2 separate regions of the Homo sapiens genome follow, and region 2 is linked to region 1. Evidence: promoter capture Hi-C in 16 types of primary human blood cells and fetal thymus (Javierre and others, 2016). All regions are on one chromosome and are shown on one strand. The core of a region is centred on a gene start or on the middle of the fragment in contact, and the rest is flanking DNA. Distances in the headings are between cores, read along the strand shown. Region 1 holds the start of KIFC3 (kinesin family member C3). Region 2 overlaps CFAP20 (cilia and flagella associated protein 20).

The links. Contacts are between HindIII fragments. The CHiCAGO score rates a contact against its expected background, and 5 or more counts as called.
Region 2: a contact is called between a fragment that was not itself captured here and the fragment with the promoter of KIFC3 in region 1, in 1 of 17 cell types (endothelial precursors). The highest score is 5.6, in endothelial precursors.

Annotation. Positions count from the first base shown.
Region 1 is chr16:57,799,494-57,804,619 of GRCh38, reverse strand. It overlaps KIFC3 (kinesin family member C3), which reads left to right and starts at 2,129. Exons shown (of 20, transcript NM_001130100.2): 1 at 2,129-2,250. RefSeq lists enhancers at 1,156-1,832, 2,510-3,186. The HindIII fragment of the contact is 12,094 bases long and covers 1-4,926 here.
Region 2 is chr16:58,121,202-58,126,327 of GRCh38, reverse strand. The region is part of intron 1 of CFAP20 (cilia and flagella associated protein 20); the gene reads left to right. Among named protein-coding and RNA genes, the nearest start is that of CFAP20, 5.6 kb to the left of the region's middle. The HindIII fragment of the contact is 219 bases long and covers 2,283-2,501 here.

The sequences.
Region 1 (5,126 bases), core at 880-3,379:
AGATCTTGTCTCAAAAATGCAACAACCATGAAACAAGTAGTTTTTACGTTTCAAATCGGAGTTTTGCTAGAATTCCAAAAATACAACCTCCTTACACTTCAATTTCCTTTTTCCTTCGCTGGTGCTTTGATCTTAATAAGTTGTTATACCCATATGCATCTGATAGTACTGTGTGAGTACCTATTGGAGTCATAGCTCTATCACACACTGCATTTGTGAACAAACTTTCTGAGGCTCAGTTTCCTTTCCTGAAACACGGGTGTCCTGAAACAGTACTGGTGTTCATAGGGTGTTCAGGGTTAAATGGGATTTTGTTTATAAAGAGCTTAGTGCTGTGCCTGACACAGTGTTAGCTTCAATAATGGCATCTATTATGTACACAGGAAAAAAAAAGACTTCTAAAGTGTTGGCAGCATTTATCTCCAGTGTGTGGGATATGGTTACAATGAACATCTATTACTTTTGTAATCAAAGCAAAAGAACAATAAATGTTATTATTAATTTAAAAATCTGGCTTTGGCTTTGGTGGGAAGGACCTACAGTTAATGTCAATGTACTCAATCCCTGAGTAAGAAAAAGTCTCCAGTTTTGAACCAGGACTTTAAAGACATTCTGTCCTCCCCATCCCCCGCCCCATCAACTCATAGGGACTATAATCAAGGGAGATAGATACTAAATCAGAATTCTAGAGACATTTTGCCTTCATCCACCCTTGCGGTCCCCTGGATCACTGCTGTTTGGAGGGCAGGCAGAGGAATTCAGAGATCATAACTCCCCAAATAAGGCTTTCTCTCCCATTGGAAGGGTTCTCCAGTGTGGTGTTCAGCTGGAAATCTAACTCTCTAGGGAATGATTCCAGGAGCGTTACATTCACCCTCTATCAGGCCTTCACTGAGGAATCTCAGTTGTCAAATAAAGCATGCACTAGGCTGCTTCCAGCTGGGGGACTGTGACTGTCCTGCTCTGGCGTCCAGAACAATCTGAGGCCCAGGCCCTTGGCTCCGTCGCTGGTCGAGATTCTTGACTGGCAGCCCAGCGCCTGGGCGGCAGCAGGAGATAGAACCCACCTGGAGTTGCCCGACCCCCTCCAGTCCTCTCCTTGATCTTCTTGGGCCATCCCCTGACAAGCAGGAAGGGACAGAGTACCCGCCCTCCTGGGATTATCTGCAGAACCGTCAGCCTGCATGGGCTGGCTTCAGAGTGACTTGCTTTCTCCTCTTCCGCACCCGGGGGTGTGGAGAGTGAGGGAGAATATTGCTGCTGGCTCTGGAATAAAATGCTGCCTCTGTTTGGGAGACAAAGAACAGAGTGGCTCCTCCAGGTCAGCTGTCTCTCCCGGCTGGCAGGCCCCTGGCCTCCCCCAGGCCTCTTCTGAGGCTCTAGGTGCCCCAGTAGCAGGGCCTTCTGCAGCAAGGCCGGGAACTGCTGCACCATTGGTGTGTTTTACCTTAAGGGACTCCAGGCAGCTTCCTTGCTGGGAAGATATTCATTTGCTGGGGTGGGGCTGGGGGTGCAGAGGTAGGAAGTGCTGTGGCTAGAAGGCGGCCTGGCCAGCGAGTAGGTGGTGGAGCGAGTGAGAGCGTGTGCGCTGTAAACAGTGTGAGTGCATGTGCGCCAGCGCGTGCAAGGACACGGTAAGGGATGTACATGTATTGTCTCGTGAGTAAGAGCTTGTGTGTGTGTTGGGATGGGAAGACACGTACTGGTATGAGAGCCCGCGTGAGAAGTGTATGTGTGAGTACTCGCGTGGAAGTTTTGCACTCGGGTTTGAGGCTGTGCAAAAGTACGCATGGCTCACCAGGTGTGGGGCTGTGTGGGCTGCCTCGTGTGTGCCAGCCCGTGTGCAGGCCTGTTTTGTGAGAGCCTTCAGGGAACGCATGAGCACGTGTGCCAGTGCGAGTGCGGGACGCGGGGAGGCGGGAGAGACCGAGTGGGAGGCCCCGCGAAGGAGTGGGAGTGGGAGTGGGAGTGCCGGCGGGAGACCTGCGGGGGCGCGCCCGGGCTGACGCGTGCGCGCCAGTGCGCGTGAGTGCGGGCGCGCGCCGCCGCCCCCCGCCGGGGTCGGAGCCGGTTGCCATGGGAACGCGCCGCGGCCCGAGTTAATCATTTCCTGTGGAAAGTGTGCGGGAGGGGCGCGAGCGGGCTGGCCGAGGAGGAGGCGGCGGCGTGGAGCTGCCTCCTGCCGGCGGGCCGGGCCGGGCCGAGCCCCGGGCGCTGCGGCGACGCCTGGATCCTGCCTCCGCCAGGCCGGTGAGTGGGGGGCCCGGGCGGGCTGGGTGCGAGCGGGGCGCTGGGCTCTGCCCGGCCCGCCGTTTGGGGCGCCGCGTCCGGGCCGGCCCTGCCCTCGGGACCCCTCTGCCCGGACCCGCTATGGGCGCGGGGAGGGAAAGGCCCGGGAGACCCAGCCCTGCGAGGTCCCCTCCAGCGCCGTTCAGCCCGAGTCGAGGACCTTGCTGGGAGCTGGGCACAGGGGCGGCGTGTCCCACGGGATCCGAGCAGCCTCGGGACCCCGTTTGGATTTTATTGAACGAGAAGAGCGCAGACCCTACCCGGGATGGGCTTGTCAATCGGCGCCGCCCTCTCCCCTTCCTGGCGTCTTCCCCACCCCCAGGGCTCCCTGGAAGGCTGCCTTTGGGTCCCTCCCACCACGTCCCTTGGGGAGTTCGCTTTTTCCCTGGCAGGGCCTGGGGCGGGGTGCGCCCGCCCAGAGGTTAGGAAGAAGGGCCTTGGCCGGTGCCCTCCGGGCAGTGAGGAATCGGGCCATTGACAGCCGCAGCAGTTGTGAGGGTCTCAGCAGGGAGGGCGATCCCAGGACCACCCCTTTAAGCCCAGCATTGCTAGTTAGAGCAGAACTCTGGCTGGTGCAGTGAAGGGCCTGGTCCTGGGAGATATTAAAGAGGAAGCTGTGTTTAATTAAATTCTGGAGTACCATTTACTGCCACCCAGCCCCCACCTCCATACCCCAACACTGTCTCAAGATTGCGGGTTGTGGCCACCCCTGGTCTTTCACCTTCCCCGGCTTTTCCTCTGCCTGAACAGGGTGAGCACCCATTCTTTCCCAGACGTGTATTCCCCATGCCCTTGTTAGAGTAGCCGTCTCCTTGACCAGGGAGAGTCATTTGCTAGGAATGCAGTCTCAGAATGGGGCCCTGCATTTGCAGTGAGTGGACTTTAGGGGCACAGGGTGGTGAGTTCTGCTGTTCACAGGGGCACCAGGGAGCAGAGGGTTTGAAATCTAGGTTGCCCTGGAAAGCCCAGGATAGATGATGGTGTGCAGGGAGGTGGCATTCCCTGTACAACTTCCTTGACCTTCTGCCTGCTCTCCCAGGGCGACCAAGCCCTGCTTGCTGCAGTCTCTGAGCAGCTGTCCAGCCTGTCCCCCCAGTCTTTGCAATGTCCCTGATCTAGGGCAGGGGGAGTATTGCAGCTCTGCTGTCCTGGTCTAAACCCAGAGAGGCAGAGACCCTCTTCCCCAGCCAGGCCCTCTGCATTCACCCACCACTGGAGCAAAGTAACTGAAAAATAAAATTTTGGAGCTCTTTGTATATGCCAGTATTGTTCTGAACACTTGGCCTTGTCTAATCTTTAGAGCAACCCTATAAGGTGGTGTTCTCCCCATTTTATAGATGGAGATAATGAAGTACGGAGAGGCAAAGTAATTCTCCCAAGGTCAGACATCTAGTAAACAGGGGAGCCAGGTTCTGAACCAGTCCCACTGCCCTCCCCCACGAATCCTAGGTTGGTAGAAGTCCCCGGACACCAGGTTTCATCTCAGATGCCCATGTAAATGAGAGAGAGTCCTGCTTTCTTGGCCCAGAACCCTGGGCTTAAGATTCCTTGATACTTTTGACCTTCACACCCCTGAGGCTGCTAAATTCAGCTGCTTTTTCCTCTTCGGGATCTAGCACACGCCCTTCCTCTTTCTTCCCGATATCTTCCTGGCTGCCTCCTCCACTTCCCTTCCTGATAACCGCAGAAACGCTATCTCCTCCTGTCCCTGCCCCTCAGACTGAGCTGAGCTGATCTCCCTGAAAGTCTTCTCTGTCCACTGTGGAGTCAGCCTCCAATGCCCTGCACTGTCTCACCTTCCCAGCAGCCGAGACTGCAGATGGACCTGCCTTGCTCCTTCCCTTGCCCATTGGACAGCTGGTCTGCAGGGTTGGTTGTGTGCCCAGCTCTGTGCCAGGCAGCCTGGAGAAGAGGACATTTGGCTGCTCCCCTTGGTTTCTTCCACGCCACACTGGTCCATCTCAGTTTCCTCAGTGGAGCTGGCCCACGTATTTAGATCAGCCTCTGCCCTGTCCTTTGGCCCACATTCCCATCCCCTTCCCAGTAAGACTGAACCTAGGAGCCTCCTAGTTGTTCTAAGTCAAGGAAGGAAGAGACCATGGCTTCCTCGCCAGGTGCCTGGCATTCTTCCAGGGTTGGGCTCTGCAAACATCAGACACCAGATCTTCAGGCCCCTAACCCCTGGACCCTTTACTTTATTATTTATTTATTTATTTATTTTTGCCTCTCAATGCTTTAGTCACTCCTGTCTCTCTGTCTCCCCAATATGCTCAACTCTCCCCCTATTCTAGACACCACATCCTCTCCTTCCCATCCTAGCCAAACACCCCCAAGGAGAAGGAAGTGGCTGCTTCCTCCCCCAGCTCCCGCCCCACTCTTTGAGCCCTCCGAAGTTTGCCATCTGCCCTTCTCCCTCCACAGGCTCAGGCTTTCTGCCTGTCTGGGCTTTCAGTCCTCCACGTCTCTTTGGCATGATGCACTGGGCACTGACCAACCTCTCCTTCCCACTTACACTTCAGTCACTTCTGAAAACTCTATACTTGCCTGGAGCTCCTGTCCCTCTCTCAGCTTCCTTCTGCAGCTTTCCACCCCGCAGTGAGCCCTGTTATCACATGGCTGTCTCCTCTTGCTCAAGCTTTGATGATTGCCTCCTCACCTGTGGCGTTGGTGGCCCTGTTTAGCTCTGAGTCTGTGTCCAGCCCTGACCTCTCTTCCAGGCTTCAGTTCAAGCTTTTGTGTGTGTTCATTTCAGAACGTTCACCCCACAAGCCATCCCAGAGTTCTTAGTGTGGGTGCAGCTGCAGACTGGGTGCAGTGGGGCTGCAAACATGAATGTG
Region 2 (5,126 bases), core at 1,143-3,642, 320 kb before region 1:
CACAGCCCCTCCCCTCCATCTCATCCTTCCAATCTCAACTTAAACATTCTTTTCATTGAGAACTTGAGTTAAGCCTCATGGGTGTGCCTGTGGCTGGCAGTTTTCTATTGTAGATCGTCCACTGGACTGCAGGTTCCTTAAGCAGAAGAACAGTACCTTACCGAAAAACCTCAATGCTAGGGCGTGGTCAGACACCTTGGATTTGCATCCTGGCTGTGCTGTGTTCCAGTTGTGTGATCTTAGCTATGTCCTTAACCATTCAGTTTTCTCGTCTATTTCTCACGGTTATGAAGATTCAATGAAGCTGTATATAAAGTCCTTAGCAACAGAGTTACAGTATATGTAGTCATGCACCACATGATGGCGTTTCAGTCAACGACAGACCTTACACATGACAGTGGTGCCATAAGATTATCATGGAGCTGAAAAATTCCTGTCGCTTAGTGACATAATAGTTGTTCGTTAAGTCAAATGCATTACTCGTGTTTGTGAGTAGGTGTAAACCAACCTACTGCACTGCCAGTCATGTAAAAGTATAGCATATACAATGATGTTCAGTGCCTAACACTTGATGATAAATGACTATGTTACTGGCTTATGTATTTACTATACTCTTTATCATTATTTTATTGTATTTTATTTTTCTGAGACAAGGTCTTGCTGTTGCCCAGGCTGGAATGCAGTAGTGCAATCAGGGCTCACTGCAGTCTCCATCTCCTGGGCTCAAGCAATCCTCCCACCTCAACCTCCCAAGTAGCTGGGACTACAGGCCCTCACCACCACACCTCACTAATTTTTGTATTTTTGTAGAGACGGGGTTTCTCCATGTTGCCCAGGCTGGTCTTGAATTCCTATGCTCAAGCAGTCCTCCTGCCTCAGCCTCCCAAAGTGCTAGAATTACAAGCATGAGTTCCCGTGCCTGGCCTTATCATAATTTTAGAATGTACTCCTACTTAACAACAAGAACAAAAAGTTAACTGTAAAATAACCTTAGGCAGGTCCTTCAGGAGATATTTCAGAAGAAGGCAGTGTTGTCATAGGAGATGACAGCGCCATGTGCGTTATTGCTCTTGCAGACCTTCCAGTGGGACAGCATGTGGAGGTGGAGACTGTGATTGATGTTAATGATCCTGACCCTGTGCGGGCCTGGGCTCATGTGTGTGTTTGTGTCTTAGTTTTTAACAAAAAAGTTTAAAAAGTTAAAAAAAGAAATAGGAAAAACCTTATGGAATAAAGATATATAGAAAGAAAATATTTTTGTGCAGTTGAACATTGTGTTTTAAGCTAAGTGTTATTACAAAATAGTCTAAAAGTTTTTAAAATTTTTAAAGTTTATAAAGTAAAAAAGTTCCAGTAAGCCAAGGTTAATTTATTATTGATGAAAGAAAAATATTTTTAATAAATTTAGTGTAGTCTGGCCAGGCACAGTGGCTCATGCCTGTAATCCCAGCACTAACTAAATAACTAAAGCACAGTGGCTCATGCCTGTAATCCCAGCACTAACTAAATAACTAAATAAAATAAATGTATTGTAGCATAAGTGTATTGTGTTTACAAAGTGTTCAGTAATGTCCTAGGCCTTCACATTCACTCACCACTCACTCACTGACTCAACCCAGAGCAACTTCCAGTCCTGCATGCTCCACTCATGGCCAGTGCCCTATCCAGTTGTGTCACTTTTTATCGTTTATACAGTACTGTACCTTTTCTATGTTTAGACACACAAATACGTACCATTATGTTACAGTTGCCTACAGTATTCAGTACAGTAGTATGCTGTACAGATTGTAGCCTAGGGGCAATAGGCTATACCATATGGCCCGGGTGTGTAGGATGTTGTACTGTCTAAGTCTGTGTAAGTACACTCTGATATTCACACAGCCATGGAACTGCCTAATGAGGCATTTCTCAGAACGTAATCCCATCCTTAAGCAATGCATGACTGTAGTTAGTACTTTATAAGTAATGACATACAGAATTAAATATGGCAGGGACTGAGGAATTTGCTCAAAACTAAAATAAGATGTTTGAACTTAGCCCACCATCCAGATTTCTAGGAATAGGAAGTACTGTAAAACCAGACTCCTGAAATGAGAAGAATTTAGTTGTTGCACCGTGGCTCGCCCAGCCCTAAGCCCTTAATGTGGCTCTAAGGCCACATAACCCATGCTCTGGCACCTGCTTCACTTGTTCTCCAGGCGGGACTCACTTCACCCGGTTCCCCCTCTTAGTAGTAGCCTCCTACTGAATTGAAGGAAGTCCTGTTCTCTCACCTTCAAGCTTTTGCACTTCCTGGTCCTTCTGCTGGGCGCTGCCCCTCACCACCCCACAAGCCTCACTCCCATCTTTTCATTAGGCTCCAGTCACAGTTCAAAGGCCTTTCTCAGAGTGACCTTCCTTAACTCTTCAGGGTAAGTTAATTTACTTCTTTCTTATCACACTTGACATTATTAGCTTCTTAAGGTCTGTATTCCTGGCTATACAGTTTCCTGATAGAAGCTTTTGTAAGTTTCTAAACCAACAGCTTAGAAGAAATTAGGGGTTTCTTTAATGTTACCTTGACATCTGGGACCAGCAAATCTTATATTTATTAAAAGACTCTTACGTTTAATGTAAACATTACTTCTGGTTGTAAGGAAAATACCAGGAGGTTCTGTTCCCACTTATACTTGTGTAAAACATGCTGTAATTTTCAGTCTTTTTTTTTTTTTTTTTTTTTTTTTTTTTTTTTTGAGACAGAGTCTTGCTCTGTCCCCCAGGCTGGAGTGCAGTGGCACGATCTCGGCTCACTGCAGGCTCCACCACCTGGGTTCACGCCATTCTCCTGCCTCAGCCTCCGGAGTAGCTGGGACTACAGGCGCCCGCCACCACGCCCAGCTAATTTTTTGCATTTTTAGTAAAGATAGGTTTTCACCGTGTTAGCCAGGATGGTCTCGATCTCCTGACCTCGTGATCCGCCTGCCTTGGCCTCCCAAAGTGTTGGGATTACAGGCGTGAGCCACTGCGCCCAGCCAATTTTCGGTCTTAATGGTAGTAATCCTGGCTGGGCGCAGTGGCTCACGCCTGTAATCCTAGCACTTTGGGAGGCCAAGGCGAGCTGAGGTCAGGAGTTCAAGACCAGCCTGACCAACATGAAGAAATCCCGTCTCTACTAAAAATACAAAAGTTAGCCGGGCATGGTGGCACATGCCTGTAATCCCAGCTACTCGGGAGGCTGAGGCAGGAGAATCACTTGAACCCGGGAGGTGGAGGTTGCGGTGAGCCGAGATGGTGCCATTGCACTCCAGCCTGGGCAACAAAAGCAAAACTTTGTCTCAAAAAAAACAAGATAGTATCCTAAAAGTACATGAGATGAGATTGCATTAATTCATGAAAACGCCTTTGTCTGTCTTTCCTGTCACCCTGTCTTTCTCTCAGCTGCTGCTGTTTCTCCCCTACTCCAAGACTAAATATTAGACCAGAGTCTTCTGCTGTTGCTGGATAGTGTTAGATTCCCATGTCCTGTTCTAATTTTAAAAATAAAGTCTCTCTTCAGAAAAAATTTCCTACATTCTAGTTTTTAGTTAGCATGCCTTGTTGATAAAAATTAAATTGGTGCTGTTTTCAGTAGTAGAATTGAGTGTATTTGGACATAAAGGTGGTAAAACTTTTTTTCTGACTTGGAGAATGTTCTTCATTATTCTGAGTCAGGTTTTACTGTAATTGAACGAAGACATGGTTTTTTGGTTTTGTTTTTCTTTTTTTTTGAAACAGAGTCTCGCTCTGTCACCCAGGCTGGAGTGCAATGGCACAATCTCAGCTTACTGCAACCTCCTCTTTCTGGATTCAAGCAATTCTCCTGCCTCAGCCTCCTGAGTAGCTGGGATTACAGGCATGCGCTACCACACCCAGCTAATTTTTTTGTATTTTTAGTAGAGATGGGGTTTCACATGTTGCCCAGGCTGGTCTCAAACTCCTGATCTCAGGTGATCCTCCCACCTCAGCCTCCAAAAGTGCTGGGATTACAGGCGTGAGCCACCGCGCCCGTCCGAAGACATGGGTTTTAATTACACTTGCCTTTTCTTAGCTGTGCACATAATTGTCCTTACGCTGACTTAGGGGTTGTTGGTGTATGCCCAGAGTTGCTTGTCTGCTGTCTGGATAGCCCCTGTCAAGTACAGCGAAGGGAGTGAAGCCTTTGACCCTTGGAGCCTGGGAGTCTGAGTCGGAGCTATGCTCAGTTCTCCCCACAGGGGTCTCCCTCTGCCTAATTTCTGTCTGGGAACCCAGCCCTTAACCCAGTGCAGGAACTTTCCTGCTGAAATGGACAGCTCTAATGGTTTAATGTAAATTAGAGCATGTGTCATTAAAGCTAGGATGCCAGATGGCTGAGGGTTCAGCTGCCTGCCAGGCTGAGTGGGTGGGGCCAGAAAAATGAAAGTTGGGGGAGGGAATGGATACAACTCATGTTATTTTTAAAGCAGTCATAGAAATATACAGCATCCACCAGCTCCCTCCCTATCCCAGTAGTAGTATTTTTTTTTTCCCTCAGCTTGACCCACCTCCCTGAGGCTTACATTGCGGGGAGGGAGAGAAATCGGTGTTCTTTATTAGTTGCCCTAGCAACCATGGAAAGCCTGGGAGAGTGATTGTAAGACTGGCCTGAAGCTTTGGTCACCTCTGTTGTCTGCAGAGGCAGAGAACCATTATGATCTGTAATTGCCAGTAACTGGATTCTGAAGCTCTTTGAGTATCTCCAGCTCATGGGCAGGGGAGGGGAAATTAATGAAATAAAACAATATTGGCTTTAGATTTTTATTTTTATTTTATTTTTTTTGAGGAATAAAGCACTCATAGGCCACACTTTGATAGTGGGAATGTGTCATGAATGAAAAAGAATTAACAAATCAAAAACAGTCGGCTCTTTGTGATCTAGAGAAGGACAGAACATGTTAAAACCTGCTTCCGCCATGAGCAATAAATGCTGAGCAGTTCATTTTATCTTCATCCCAAAGCCACGCCTGCCCAGTGACCTCTGAACTGGAAGGAGCTAAGGAAAGGACGTTGATACTTTCTGAGACATGTATCTTCCTGTATGCTGTTTTCAGAAGCTGGTTTTAGGAGACGGTTGCTTTCCTGGAAGACCT